Linked DNA regions of Homo sapiens: regions 2, 3, 4 and 5 are each linked to region 1. The links are contacts of gene promoters, found by promoter capture Hi-C in human tissues and cell types (Jung and others, 2019). All regions are on one chromosome and are shown on one strand. Each heading gives the region's core, a stretch centred on a gene start or on the middle of the fragment in contact. The rest is flanking DNA. Distances are from core to core; before and after follow the strand shown.

Region 1 (2,700 bases), core at 115-2,614:
CCTAGCCTGGGCTCCAAACCAACTCCGAGCTAGGGAAGCTCCGAGCCAGGGTGCTTCTAGAGTGTCCGGCCCACCCCTCCGCTTCATTTCCCAAGACAGTGAGGGCGGGGCTAGAGGCCAGGTGCGGAGGTGCGGGACAGGAGCCAAGCTGGGTCGTAGTGGGATCCACCTGTGCGTGATACGTAACAGAAGGGAGAGGCGAGGCGCGGGGAGGTCCGCAGGGATGTGGGAGACGCGACGGGGAGGACTGGGACGAAACAAACTAGGTCCGCAAGGGTATAAGGGGAGCAGCTCGGAGGGTTGGGGCGAGGCGGGGTCTACAGGGGTGTGGGGGGCTTGGCAGGGAGCGCTGGGGCGACGCGGAGCTCCGCAGCGTTGGCGGGGAGCGTTGTGGGGAGACGGGGTCTGCAGGAATGTGAGGGCGCGGTGGGGAGCGTAGCGGGGTATGCAAGGTTGTGAGGGTTGTGGATGGGAGGGCTGGGGCGAGGCGGGGTCCGCAGAGATGTGGGGGGCGCAGAGATGGGGGGGGTCCGCGGGCCCGCCGGGGACCGCGCAGCCTCGGGCTCTGTGCCCGGGGCCGCGCGGGTTAACTAGAGAAGGTGACGCGCGCCCCTGTTGCTCAGCCGCGGCGCGTGCCTTCCCTGCGGCGATCCTAATTGGCCCGACAGAAGCCCGCCCCCAGAAGCCCCTCCCACAGTAGGCAAGGCCCCGCGTGCCGCAACGCTCCCAGAGTTGCGCGTCAGCCTGGACTCAGCGCCTGCGCTACGAGGCTGGGCGGGGCGCGGCCGGATCGGTCGAGAGCGTCCTGGCTGATGACGGTCTCCCGTGCCCACGCCCCAAACGCAGTCTCTGGCCTGGATGTGCTCGGAGCCCACGAGGTGCAGAGGCTCGGACGGCGAAAGGGACCTGGCTGAGATCTGGGTCTTAAACCGCGGGCTCGGCCCAGCATCCCGGCAGCGTGCGCCCACAAGTGACACCCGGCCGGGCGCGGTCTGCGGGATCGCAGGCGCCGGGTCTCATCTCCAGTTCACACACGGGACGAAACGGGCCACCCCTACCAGCTCTGAGAGCATGCACCTCCAACTCCATCCCTCCCCACATGCCCGACCCCCCAACCCGTAACTCAGGCAGACACCTGGGCGTCCCCCTTCAGCGAATGCCCACACCGCGGGCAGGCCTGCCCCTCACCCCGCAGTCAGGGCGCCCTGCATCCTTCTTTGTAAAACCCATAGCTGTAGAGGGAGCGGAATGGTGGGGCAGGGCTGGGAGCCCAGCGGGAGTGAGTGGTGGGGAATGATGGTGGCCAAGGTCACACAAAGCAGTGAATTCACTTCATGTCACAGAACTGCTCAGGTTACGATAGTTACTTTTGTTATGTATTTTACCACAATTTTTAAAAAGCAAACCAAAACCAACCAAGAGTGCTTCCCCCACACCTCAAAATCATCCTGCAGCAGCTCCCTGGCCCAGCTCTCTCTCACCCTGACCCTGGGCCCCTCTCCCACCACCCAGGGCTAGCCCTGTGGACCAACCATCTCTGCCAGCCCCTCCCCGACCCTCCAGCCAGGGAGGTGGGGCGCTGGCCGGTGAATGGGGCAGGCCAGGCCCAAAGGCTGGCCCAGGGCTCACCAGCTCTGGACTGGGCGTCCCGTCTGAGGTGGGGATGACCAACATGCCAGCTCTGGGTTTTAGCTGAGGATGGGCACATCAAGCACTGACAGCCAGCAAGCTGGGCACAGGCGATGCTCAACCTCTAACACATCGGCTGAGAACCTCACCTGCCTCTCCCTGCCTGGGAGCCCTGGCAAGACAGCTCCTCTCCCAGGCCCAGCACAGGCAGGCGCTGGACAGCCACTTCCTAAGGGGTGCGCGGCCGTCAAGGCAGAGGTGGGTATCCCTGCACCTCACACCTCTCAGGAGGTCAGGATCCACATCCGTCGCCTGCTTTCCTGGGCTGCCCCTGGGGCTTGTGGGCTGAGATCAACCCCTTGTGCCCTGCCCCAGGCCCTCCCTCAGGCGAGGCCCTGCCCAGGCAGGTGGTTCTTCCCTGGCTGTTCCCTTCCAACAGGTGGGGCCCAGACCATCCTATCTCTTTGGACCTGGAGACATTTCCTTAACTGGGCTTTGCAGCAGAGGGAAGAGAACAGTGGCAGAGCCAGGCGCGTACCTCCTGTGCCCAGGACAGCACCTGTAAGCAAGGGGGAAGGGAGCCACCCACCCCAGAACTCAAATGGAGAGAAAGTCAAGACAATCACCCCTGACGTGGGGCTGCACCAATCCCTGACGTCTGACCCCACTGTGGCTGTCCTCAGAGCCAAGAGGGCTCCAGAAGCCCACCCGCCTCGAAGCTGTTCAGGGAGCCTCACGGCCCGTGTTTGCCACATGGGTGTGTGCCAGGGCCAAGGGGACACAGAAGATGGCAGGATGACACTAATGGGGTGAGCAGGGCACACTGGTGCCTCCCATACTGCCCTCCAGCACCAGGCAGGGTCACCACAGCCGGCAAGCACTGGGCCTGGGGATGTGTGAAGAGATAGGGTTATTGAGAAGAGAAAACAGAACGCTGGTCATCCGTGGCACTCAGGGCTAGGCAGTCCAGGGAGCAGAAAACAGGGGTCCCGGGCCCAGTCTCCCTCCTGGAGGTCAGAGCGGAGCCCCTGGCACTGTGCCCTGGCCCAGAACCAGGCTGTGGGCTCCACG
Region 2 (2,700 bases), core at 14-2,513, 280 kb after region 1:
AACTCCTTCTTCAGTGTCCAGAGTAGCAGGGGCTAATTTTTTTTTAATTTTTTAATTTTTTTTTTGAGACAGTCTCTGTTGCCTGGGTTGGAGTGCAGTGGCGCAATATTGGCTCACTACAACCTCTGCCTCCTGGGTTCAAGTGATTTTCCTGCCTCAGCCTCCTGAGTAGCTGGAATTACAGGCACCTGCCACCATGCCCAGCTAATTTTTTGTATTTCTAGTAGAGACGGCGTTTCATCATATTGGCCCGGCTGGTCTCAAACTCCTGACCTCATGATTTGCCCACCTTGGCCCCCAAAGTGCTGGGATTACAGGCATGAGCCACCGCGCCCAGCAGCAGGAGCTAATTTTTAAGAATTTTTTGTAGCAACAAGTTGTTGCTATGTTACCCAGCTGGTCCTGAGTCACTGGGGTTACAGGTGTGTGTCACCATGCCAGGCTTGCTTCCTCCTCCGTTAAGTGGCCATTTTTCCACCTCAAAAATTGGTTTGGGACACAAGGAAGAATTGGAAATGCTTAAGATGAGAACAAAAGTTGAGACCACCCAACACAGCTGGGACCTTACTGCCCAGTGCTCCCAGTGGTCTGACCAAAACCCCACACCAGACAGTACAAAGGCCCACTCCCGAGCTGCCGCTTACGGCCCAGCGGGAACAGACTGTATTCTTATCTTTCGGCATTTCTCTGCAAATAAAAAGGTGCCACTGCGGTCCGGCCTTTGTGCACTTGCCCTTGTGCTGAGCAAGGCGGGTGGCCTGTTCTTACCGCTGGGTTCTGCTGCCCCCACCCCCATTTCGGTGACTAAACCTGCAGCTCTGATCCTGTTCCCAAAGGGGCAGGAGGCCGGGCTCACCCCAGGCAGCCCCTGGCCTCCCTGACGGCCCCCTCGGGAGGGGTTCCGTGCTTTGATCGCCTTTCCAGCGCCGATACTGCAGTAGCTGGGCCCGGCCGAGAGCTCGCGGTCACGAACACCGGCAGCCTCTTGCCTACAGTGTCCCGCGCTGTAGAAGAGCCTGCCCTGGCGCTGAGCTGGTCGTGGCTGCTTCAGCAGTGGGCCTGCGCCTCCTTGTAGGCCAGCCCTGGCCCAGATCCAGGTGCCTGCCCCGGAAGCGCGCGGCTGCCCGGGGTGAAGCCGGAGGGCGGCGAGCGGCTGTTTCGGCCGGTAGGTGGAGGCGTTGACCAGCCTCTGGGAACGGGGCGGGACCTAGTTGGGGGGGCTCCGCCCCCTCCCCAGGAGGCGAGCTCAGCCCGCGACCTTTATCCCGCGCGTTGCGGTCAAGATGGCGCTGGTGGCTTCTGTGCGAGTCCCGGCGCGCGTTCTGCTCCGCGCGGGTGCGAAACCCGGGGTGGGCAGGGATCGGGCCGGGGCCGGGGCCAGGACCGGGAACTAACGGGCTCCCCCACGCTGCCTTCGCAGGGGCCCGGCTCCCGGGCGCGGCCCTCGGGCGGACGGAGCGGGCGGCCGGCGGCGGAGACGGCGCGCGGCGCTTCGGGAGCCAGCGGGTGCTGGTGGAGCCGGACGCGGGCGCAGGTGAGCGGGCGGCGCCGAGGGAGGGCGGGCGTGGGGTCAGGACCCGCGGGGGTCCGCGCTCGCGGGGTGCTGTCGGAGAACCACGTCTGTCGACGCTCGGTTTGTGTTTAGAACCCAAGTTTCGAAACAGAACCTTGCCGCTCTACCTGGGTTCGTTCGTCATGAGATAAAAGTTTCTGTTTTTAAAGTTGGCGGAGGCCGGGCGCGGTGGCTCACGCCTGTAATCCTAGCACTTTAAGAGGCAGAGGCGGGCGGATCACCTGAGGTCAGGAGTTCGAGATCAGCCTGGCCAACATGATGAAACCCTATCTGTACTGAAAAATACAAAAGAAAAAAATTAGCTGGGCGTGGTGGTGCGTGCCTATGCCTGGGAGGCTGAGGCAGAAGAATCGCTGGAATCTGGGAGGTGGAGGCTGCAGTGAGCCGAGATTGTGCCACTGCACTCCAGCTTGGGCCACAGAGCAAGATTCCGTCTCAAAATAAATAAATAAATAAAAATAAAGTTGGCGGGGATATGAGCTGTTATCTAAGTTATTCAATTGGAAGTGGAAAAGAATTGGAATCTTTTGGAATAAAATTACGTTTGTTAACACTCCCATGTGGCACAGAACCTCGTACCTACCCGCCCGTCAGAACCCTTGGTAAAACCCACTGGAAAGGATAGAAAAAGTACTTTTGGAAGAGAAGCCTGTGCGCTCCCTCCAGACAGGAGGCCGAGCTGAGGGCACCGAGAGGGCACGCCTAGGCGCCAGCAGTTCTGCTTCCAGGACATGCTGACCTGGACCTCCCGGTGCAGCAGTCCCTGCTGTGGCTCCTGAGAGGAGGCCCTCCCCCTCCGCAAGTAAGTCACAGCCCCTGCCCTCCCCAACCCCCCAGACTCAGGGCTGTGCCCAACTTTGCACAGCTTCAGGACTCCAGGCTCCTGGTGCCTCTGAACTTGGTTCCGTCCTCTCTGTCTGGGCTGAGGGAGCTGCCTGGGCTCTCTCTACAAACTTGAGAGGGACAAACTAAGACCAACTTCAAACTGACTTTTTTTTTTTTTTTTTTTTTTTTTGGAGATGTAGTCTTGCTCTCCAGTCGCCAGACTGGAGTGCAGTGGCGCAATCTCCGATCACTGCAACCTGTGCCTCCTGGGTTCAAGCGATTCTCCCTCCTCAGCCTCCCAA
Region 3 (2,700 bases), core at 192-2,691, 330 kb before region 1:
CTAAGCTGCCTCAGTTTCCTTATCTGCAGAGTGGGAATAATAAAGACATTTGAGGATTAGGAGGCAATGCATGGCACTCCTAAATGTTTGCTCTATTATATAAATACTATATTTATATTTGTATAAATATATTTATTACATACATATTCACTACTATGGTTTTTTTTTTTTTTTTTTGAAACAGAGTCTCGCTCTGTCGCCCAGGCTGGAGTGCAGTGGCGTGATCTCAGCTCACTGCAACCTCCGCCTCCCAGGTTCAAGCGATTCTCCTGCCTCAGCCTCCCAAGTAGATGGGACTAAGGGCGCCTGCCACCATGCCTGGCTAATTTTTTTTTTTTTGTATTTTTAGTAGAGACGGGGTTTTACTATGTTGGCCAGACTGGTATTGAACTCCTGACCTCATGATCTGTCCGTCTTGGCCTCCCAAAGTGCTGGGATTACAGGAATAAGCCACCCCACCCAGACACTATGGTTGTTTTTAATTCACCCCCGGCGGTAGCAAGGGCCCTGCTGGAGGCTTGTTGATCGAATGAGTGAAGGGGCGCAGGCTCCTGCCTCTTTGTAGAGGAGGAAGCCTGCCCTGCTTGGGTGGGAGTGTCCCAAGTGTGGGGCGCTGCAGGGCACTGAGTCAGGGAAGGTCTCACAGGATTCAGCCCCGGGTTGCCACTGTGGCAGCCGCTGGGGGGAAGCACCGAGAATCCACTCCCAGCCCAGGACCCGGCCCCCCACAGCCCAGCCCAGCAGCTCTTTGAATCCTGGGAGTCCCAGCCCTTCCCGGGGCCCCTCTTCTCTCAACCCCCCTGCTTGGCCGAGCCCTGGTGCCCATGGGCTCCTCCCCTTCCCAGGAGTCCAGGTGAGGTGAGTTGTCAGGTGTCTGAACCGCAGGGCAGAGCCCCGCCTCCAGGAACGACAGGAGGGCGGCCACCAGGAGGCCACCAAGGTCGCCACTCACCTGATTCACAGCTTTCGGGAAGTGGGTTAACGGGATTCCCAAGCCCGGGTTGCGCCAGGTCTCTGGGCTGAGTCACAGGGGCCTGGGGCCCTGCAGGTGGGAGCCGTTACTGAGCTTTGGGCACCCCCTTGATCCCTAAGGCCCTAGGACCACCCCCAACACCCAGTACCCCAGACTTCAGCCTCTCCAAACCCAGGCCCTCCCCAGCCCGGAACCCCTTCCTTTCAGTGCCCTGGCACCTTTCTCTGCCCCTGGACAATTAATGTCAGGGACCTCTGGGCCCAAGCCCCCTCCCCTGCCCTTCCAGAGGCCACATCCTGGGGTCTCAGCTAGAGCCCCCCCAGAGCCCTGTAGCGGCTGGCTTCCTCCCCGCAGCCCCGCCCTCTGCCCAGGACCCACAGCCGGGGTGGCCGCGGGAGCCACCTGGGGACTGGTCTGACGGCATTCCGCCTCCCAGGATAAAACCTGGGGCGACCTGCAGGGAACCTACACACCCTGACCCGCATCGCCCTGGGTCTCTCGAGCCTGCTGCCTGCTCCCCCGCCCCACCAGCCATGGTGGTTTCTGGAGCGCCCCCAGCCCTGGGTGGGGGCTGTCTCGGCACCTTCACCTCCCTGCTGCTGCTGGCGTCGACAGGTACGTCCGGAGGCTGCTCCTCCCTCCTCCCTCTCACCTCCACCCTCCTTCCCTCCTTCCCTCCCTCCCTCTCTCCCTCCTGGCCTTGCCTCTCTCATCTCCTTTCCGCTTCTGCTCTGTTTATCTCTTGCTCCTTAACTGCTCTGTGCCTCGGTTTCTTCTACGGCTGTGAGGATGAAACAGAAAACGCAGCAAGTACGCAGCGCGCCTCGGTCTCCAGTTACCGTCGGCGTCGCCATCGCCTGCTCCCTCTCGCCTCCGTGTTCTCCCATCTCCTCGTCCTCCGCTGCTTGCCTCTGGGGAAGCACCGTTTTGTGTTGTTCCTGCCGCAGGAGGTCAGGGGAGGGCACACCAGCGGCAGCAGCGTCCAGAGCCGAGGGGCTCAGGTCTGTGCCTCCCTCGAGGAGCCGGTCCTGGTCCCCGGAAGGCAGGCTGGACGGGAAGCTGCGGGAGGGCAGGGTCACAGCTGTGCAGCCAGGGCCTGGCCAGGCCCCAGGAAATGCCCCGCCGGTAGGGGCCCTGGGGTTGAGAGACTTGAGAGTCTCCCTGGGCACTGGAGGGCTAGAGGTTCCTCACCACCAGGTACTCAAGGGGACCCCCTCCTCACTGGGCGCTGGGACGCCTGCTCACTGGGCGCTGGGACCCCTCCTCACTGGGCGCTGGGACCCCCTCCTCACTGAGCGCTGGGACCCCCTCGTCACTGGGCGCTGGGGACCCCTCCTCACTGGGCGCTGGGGAGCCCTCCTCACTGGGCGCTGGGGACCCCTCCTCACTGGGCGCTGGGGAACCCTCCTCACTAGGCGCTGGGGAGCCCTCCTCACTGGGCGCTGGGGACCCCTCCTCACTGGGTGCTGGGACCCCTTCCCACTGGGCACTGGACCCCTTCTCACTGGGTGCTGGGGGCTTCTCGCTGGGCGCTGAGGGACCCTCCTCACTGGGTACTGGGACCCCTCCTCACTGGGCGCTGAGGGACCCTCCTCAGGGGGTGCTGGGACCCCTCCTCACTGGGCGCTGAGGGACCCTCCTCACTGGGTGCTGGGACCTCCACCTCACTGGGCACTGGGATCCCTTCTTACTGGGTGTTGGGGGCCTTCCTCACTGGGCGTTGAGGG
Region 4 (2,700 bases), core at 146-2,645, 260 kb after region 1:
CAGCGCACCGTCAATCCCTCCACAAATAACCACAGGGCAACGACTGCCTGACAGGCACAGCAGAGAACAAAACCCGCCCTCGGCCGGGGGCGGTGGCTCACGCCTGTAATCCCAGCACTTTGGGACGCCCAGGAGCGAGCACTTTGGGAGGCCAAGGCGAACCTAGGAGCGGATCACGAGGTCAGGAGTTCTCGACCAGTCTGGCCAACATAGTGAAACCCTGTCTCTACCAGAAAAATACAAAAAAAATTAGCCGGGTGTGGTAGTGTGCGCCTGTAATCCCAGCTACTCGGGAGGCTGAGGCAGGAGAATCGCTTGAACCCGGGAGGCGGAGGTTGCAGTGAGCCGAGATCGCGCCGCTGCACTCCAGCCTGGGCAACAGTGCGAGACTCTGTCAAAAAAAAAAAAAAATCCGCCCCGTCAGTGTGGGGAGTTGACGCGGAGCCTCCTGCCTGCACCCCTACAGCGTCACCCCCTCCTCTGTCCCTGCCAGAGGCGCCACCTCTGGACTCTCCCAGGGTCGGACCCTGGTCGACAGTGCTCCCTGCCCGGACCCTGCACCGGCCGATGGATGAAGCCTCGGCGCTGCGCCGTTCACACGCTCCGTGCCGCTGCCGCGAAGCTCGCGCGGGCCTGCGAGCCGGTACCCGGGCCTCCCTTCCCTGCTTCCAGCGAACCTCGGCGCCTGCTGTTCCCCCGCCGGGCGCGCCCTTCCATTCGGGTCTCAGCGGCAGTGTCACCTCCCCGGAGAGGCCCGCCGTTGCACCCCATCTCCCACTCTCAAGCTCGTCGCTCTTCCTGCCCGCACAGCCCGCCTGCCGCGCCCACCCGGTGGAGGTCCGCCTGCCGGGAGGCCGCGTCCACGGGAACACCCCAAACGCCACCAGTGGATTTTGACCGCACGAACGCACGCCCTGCCCCAGCCCGTCTCTCCGAGCTACTTCCGCCCTGCGGGCCCCCACGCCCCGCCACGCACGGCCGCAGAGCCTGCGAACCCCTCCTGTGCTACCACCCCGCCGGCCTCAGCACAGCCCGGCCCGGAGCCCCGCCTCCACCGCCGGCGACAGGGGCCGGAGTCTGCCCGGGCGGGCCCAGTGCGCCCGCGCAAGGAAAGGGGCGGGGCACGGGCGCGTTAACACCCTCCGCGCCGGAGGACGAGCCTCGGTCATCGCGCTGCCCTCCCAGGTTCAACAGGCTACCCATGTGCCCGCTCCAGTAAGCGTGCAACCAGCCCGGTCAGTCCCAGGGACTTTACCGGCTAGGAGACACCTTGAACGTCCCCAGCGCGACTCCCACAAACTGCCTTGACTCTTTAACGCTTCCTCGCTGGCGCCCATTGGGCCAGGCGTTTACGTCATCGCTGCGCGCCGGGCGGCGGCGACTTCCCGCTCCTTGACTCTGACGTCAGAGCGGCGCCGGCCTCGGCGGCTGAGGAAAGCAGGAGGAGGTGGCGGCGGCGGGAAGATGTAAGTTGGGGCGGAATCCGACTGCATCCGTGTTTCGGGGGCTGCCCGGCAGGCCCGGCAGGACGCCTCGTGAAGCCGGTCCACTCCTCAGCCCCGCAGTGCGGCGGTGGCCTGGCAGCGCGGTGCGGGCTCCGAGAAGAAAGAGTGTGGCCCGGGGCGGGCGGAGTGGGAGGTGTCGAGGCCGTGGCCCGGAAGTGGTCGGGGCCGCTGCGGACGGAAGGGCGCCTGTGCTTCGTCCGCTCGGCGGTGGCCCAGCCAGGCCCGCGGGACTCAGACCAGCGGGGAGCGCGGCCTCCGCCCTTGGGGCCCTCCCGCCGGGCCGGAGACCCAAGCCCCCAACGCCAGGCCCTGCCCTGGAAGCGCTCGCGGCCCGGCGCCTGGACGGGGGAGTTGTGAGTGAACGCGGACGGGTAGCGGCGAGGTCGGCGTGTCGGGCCGGTGTCGGCGGGCGCGGAGTTTCTTTGTGGGATGCGGTGGAAGGTCGGCCGATCCCCCCTTCGGAGTCATTAATTCAAACGTGTACTCCGCGAACGTTTCCCGGACTCCCGTGTGCAATTATCGGCGCTAGGCCGTGGGGATACGGCCCACTATGGACCGAGCACGGTGGCCGAGCTCAGTTTGATGGGTTACCCCAGAGGGGCGGATACGGGAAGGTTAAGTTTGTTGGAGGAGAAACGTGGAGTAGGCTTTTTGTCTTGATTCCGCATGAACTGTGCCTGAAATGTACTTTTAAATGGGGAAGGTGCTCTGAAGATTTGTGCCGAAACGCCCTCTCCTCGAGATTTAACTAATTGTTCTCTCCTCTCTCTGGCTGTTGGACGCGCACCTTTCCGGAGGATGGGGGAGGTAACCGAGGTCCTGAGCCGGTACCTGAACTTGGGTGAACAGAGAACCTCAACTTTTGCTTTCTAGCACTCGACCGCACCCAGCAAGGCGTCCGCTTACTCAGTGGTTCTTAGTGTTTGGAGTGCTTAAGAATAACTGGTGGTGTTTGATTTCACCAAGTACATTCGGGCAGATCTTAGTTCTTGGGGGGGTGGGGCTGGAATCTGCGGGTGTGACCTCCACTCTAGGTCTGTGCTGTCCAGCCAAGTAGCCATTGGCCACATGTGGCTGCTAAGCATGTGAAATACAGCTAATCAAGACTGAAATATTAAAACACACACCAGTTTTAGAAGACTAGGAAAAAAGCAAACTTTTATTAGATGTTTATGTTGATTATATGTTGGAAAGA
Region 5 (2,813 bases), core at 115-2,614, 260 kb before region 1:
CAGGAGTTCGAGAACAAGTTGGGCATCATTGCAAGACCCCATCTCTGGAAAAAAAAATTGCTAGGTGCTGTGGCATGCACCTGTGGTCCCAACTACTTGGGAAGCTGAGGTGGCAGGATCACTTGAGCCCAGAGGTCAAGGACGCAGGGAGTTGTGATTGTACCACTGCACTCCAGCCTGGGTGACAGAGCAAGACCCTGTCTCTCTCTCCCTTTTTATTTTTTTTTGAGACAGAATCTCACTGCGTCGCCCAGGCTGGAGTGCAGTGGCATAATCTCGGCTCACTGCAACTTCCACCTCCCGGGTTCAAGCAATTCCTGTGCCTCAGCCTCCCGAGTAGCTGAGATTGCAGGCGCCCACCATCAGGCCTGGCTAATTTTTGTATTTTTAGTAGAGACGAGGTTTCACCATGTTGGCCAGGCTCGTCTCAAACCCCTGACCTCAAATGAGCCACCCATCTCGGCTTCCCAAAATGCAGGGATTACAGGCATGAGCCACCATGCTTGGCCAAGACCCTGTCTCTTTAAAAAAAAAAAGAAAGAAAAACAAAAAAAAAAAAAAGGAAAAAAGTACAACTATGGCAGGGCTGCAAAGGAGGCAGGAGGAGGTGGCAGAGCAGAAGGCTGAGGGATAAGAGGAGTTCACTATGCAGAGAGGGACTTGAGAGACTTCTAGGCAGCGAACACTGTGTATGAGCCCAAGAGGGAACTACAGGGCCCTGGACCATCCGGGCCCCGGTCCTCCACGGGCCTCGAGAGAAGGGGAGTTCCTGTCCCCTGACCCCAGCATCTTGCTCTGTCTCGGCCACCCCAAACCAAAGACTGCACTGGTCCCCAAGGTCAAGTCTCCCCCTGCCTCTGGTCAAGTAAGGAGTGCCACCAACTTTGAACCAGTCCCTTTCCACCTCCAGCTGCTCCAGACCCCGGATCTGGAAGGGGGCTGGCCATGCTGGGGTCTCTGGGTGGAGCTGTCTGGCCAGGACTTCCGTCTGAGATGGGATTTCTGGACAGAACAATGGAGCGCAGAAGCTCCAGCAACGTGTGCTCTGCAGGGAGCCCAGGTCAGGTTTGGAGAGGAGTTGCCCCGGATCCTGCAGAGCTTCCCCACCTGACTGCCACCCCTCCCAGCACCTACCCGCACCACTGCTCTCCGCCAGCCCCCACTTCTAGTACCTTGGCGCAAGGCAGGCTTCCTTTGAGAAACCCATTGACCCTTTCCTGCCACCTCTGAAGCTCTGCTCAAAGCATCTTTGTTTGAGGCTGGTCCGGTAAAGCCACAGCCCCGCCCCGGCCCTGTTCATTACTCCTTGGCTGAGCCTCGCGCTCTCCTGGCACTTTAAGCCCCCAGGCCCTCCCTCAACCCCAGTCAGCAGAAGGCGCCAGGCTGTGAGGGTGAGAGCAAGCCAGGGGCTGTGGGGGCTGCAGGGGCAGCCAGTGGGTGAGGATGAGGGTGAGGACGAGGAGGGGTGAAGGATGGGGGAGGGGGTGAGGATGAGGGAAGTGGTGAAGATGAGGGAGGGGAGTGAGGAGGAAGGGGGTGAGGATAGAGGAGGGGGTGAGGATGAGGGAGGGGGTGACGATGGGGGGGTGAAGGATGGAGGAGGGGTGATGAGAGAGGAGTGAGGATGAGGGAGGGGGTGAAGGATGAGGGAGGGGGTGAGGATGAGACAGGGGTGAGGATGAGGGAGGGGGTGAGGATGAGGGAGGGGAGTGAGGAGGAGGGGGCTGAGGATGGAGGAGGGGGTGAGGATAGAGGAGGGGTGAGGATGAGGGAGGGGTGAGGATGAGAGAGGGGTGAGGATGAGAGGTGAGGATGAGGGAGGGGGTGAGGATGAGGGAGGGGAGTGAGGAGGAGCAGGGGTGACGATGGAGGACGGGGTGAGGATAGAGGAGGAGGTGAGGATGAGGGAGGGGGTGAGGATGAGAGAGGGATGAGGATGAGGGAAGGGGTGAGGATAAGGGAGGGGAGTGAGGAGGAGGGGGGTGAGGATGGAGGAGGGAGTGAGGATGAGGGAGGGGGTGAGGATGAGGGAGGGGGTGAGGATGGGGGAGGGGGATGAGGGAGGGAGTGAGGATGACCGAGGGGGGTTAGGCTCCAGGGCTTCTGTCGAGACCAAGGATGCCCAAATATCTGGGTGGTGGGTGCTGCATACCTGGGCCCTGGGCAGAACGAAGGGTATACAGCCTGGGCCACCAGGATAAGTCCAGAACCCACCAGGAGCTGAGGACAGACAGAAGGACCACGGAGGGGGTGACGGGCTGGTGTGAGGATTGGTGCCCCTGGGCCAGGACTCTCCTCTCTTCTCCCTGCTGGCTCCAGACCAGAGTCCAAGCCCTAGGCAGTGCCACCCTTACCCAGCCCAGCCTTGAAGACAGAATGAGAGGGGTTTCCTGTCTCCAGGTCCTGCTCCTTCTGGTGCTGGGTGAGTGGGGACAGGGACTGGGGGTGAGGGCCGCAGACACCTTGGCTCCCAGTTCTCCCATCTCACTGCTCCCTGGGCCGGGCTCCCTGGAGCACTCTTGGGCTTTCTAATCTTGATTCCAAGGGCTCAATCCTCTCTGCCACTGACCTTGACCTCACCACACCTCGATGTGCTTGTCGGTGTCATGCTCATACGCCCTTGCCCCCTGCACCTTCACAGTGCTCTGGGGAGGGTTAAATAAGATAACAGACGGCACGAAAGCCTGGCGCAATGTCAGGGCAACATTGTTTCACCCTCCTTCCTCATCTCTGGCCTCCCCTCCAACTCCGTTATTTGACACCAAATCTATAATCTGGTCCCTTCCCTGCTTCCTCCTCCAGGAGCTGCTGGG

The links. Contacts are between HindIII fragments. The study calls those that stand out against the background at their distance.
Region 2: the fragment with the promoter of ECI1 here is called in contact with the fragment with the promoter of CEMP1 in region 1 in 3 of the 25 tissues and cell types used here (dorsolateral prefrontal cortex, liver and lymphoblastoid cells).
Region 3: the fragment with the promoter of PRSS22 here is called in contact with the fragment with the promoter of CEMP1 in region 1 in 2 of the 25 tissues and cell types used here (adrenal gland and dorsolateral prefrontal cortex).
Region 4: a contact is called between the fragment with the promoter of RNPS1 here and the fragment with the promoter of CEMP1 in region 1, in 3 of the 25 tissues and cell types used here (IMR-90 fibroblasts, dorsolateral prefrontal cortex and lymphoblastoid cells).
Region 5: a contact is called between the fragment with the promoter of PRSS33 here and the fragment with the promoter of CEMP1 in region 1, in 4 of the 25 tissues and cell types used here (adrenal gland, heart right ventricle, spleen and 1 more).

Annotation. Positions count from the first base shown.
Region 1 is chr16:2,530,072-2,532,771 of GRCh38, reverse strand. It overlaps CEMP1 (cementum protein 1), which reads left to right and starts at 1,364. Exons shown (of 1, transcript NM_001048212.3): 1 at 1,364-2,700. The coding sequence starts at 1,699. The coding sequence ends at 2,442. AMDHD2 (amidohydrolase domain containing 2) reads right to left here. Exons shown (of 11, transcript NM_001330449.2): 11 at 1,355-2,700. It overlaps MIR3178 (microRNA 3178), which reads left to right and starts at 767; the gene lies at 767-850. RefSeq lists enhancers at 82-131, 1-133, 912-961. The HindIII fragment of the contact is 25,225 bases long and covers 1-2,700 here.
Region 2 is chr16:2,250,150-2,252,849 of GRCh38, reverse strand. ECI1 (enoyl-CoA delta isomerase 1) reads left to right here and starts at 1,263. Exons shown (of 7, transcript NM_001919.4): 1 at 1,263-1,335; 2 at 1,421-1,534. The coding sequence starts at 1,284. LOC107984839 (a long non-coding RNA gene) reads right to left here and starts at 1,180. Exons shown (of 2, transcript XR_001752052.2): 1 at 857-1,180. RefSeq lists enhancers at 812-871, 1,802-1,931 and a silencer at 1,122-1,591. The HindIII fragment of the contact is 14,026 bases long and covers 1-2,554 here.
Region 3 is chr16:2,856,911-2,859,610 of GRCh38, reverse strand. PRSS22 (serine protease 22) reads left to right here and starts at 1,441. Exons shown (of 6, transcript NM_022119.4): 1 at 1,441-1,588. The coding sequence starts at 1,507. RefSeq lists enhancers at 255-854, 855-1,455, 1,456-2,056. The HindIII fragment of the contact is 21,792 bases long and covers 1-2,700 here.
Region 4 is chr16:2,266,821-2,269,520 of GRCh38, reverse strand. It overlaps RNPS1 (RNA binding protein with serine rich domain 1), which reads left to right and starts at 1,395. Exons shown (of 8, transcript NM_080594.4): 1 at 1,395-1,466. It overlaps MIR3677HG (MIR3677 and MIR940 host gene), which reads right to left and starts at 858. Exons shown (of 3, transcript NR_132988.1): 1 at 678-858. RefSeq lists a silencer at 748-1,197 and an enhancer at 1,328-1,587. The HindIII fragment of the contact is 10,724 bases long and covers 1-2,700 here.
Region 5 is chr16:2,786,111-2,788,923 of GRCh38, reverse strand. It overlaps PRSS33 (serine protease 33), which reads left to right and starts at 1,364. Exons shown (of 7, transcript NM_152891.3): 1 at 1,364-1,391; 2 at 2,320-2,422; 3 at 2,803-2,813. The coding sequence starts at 2,377. The HindIII fragment of the contact is 27,852 bases long and covers 1-2,813 here.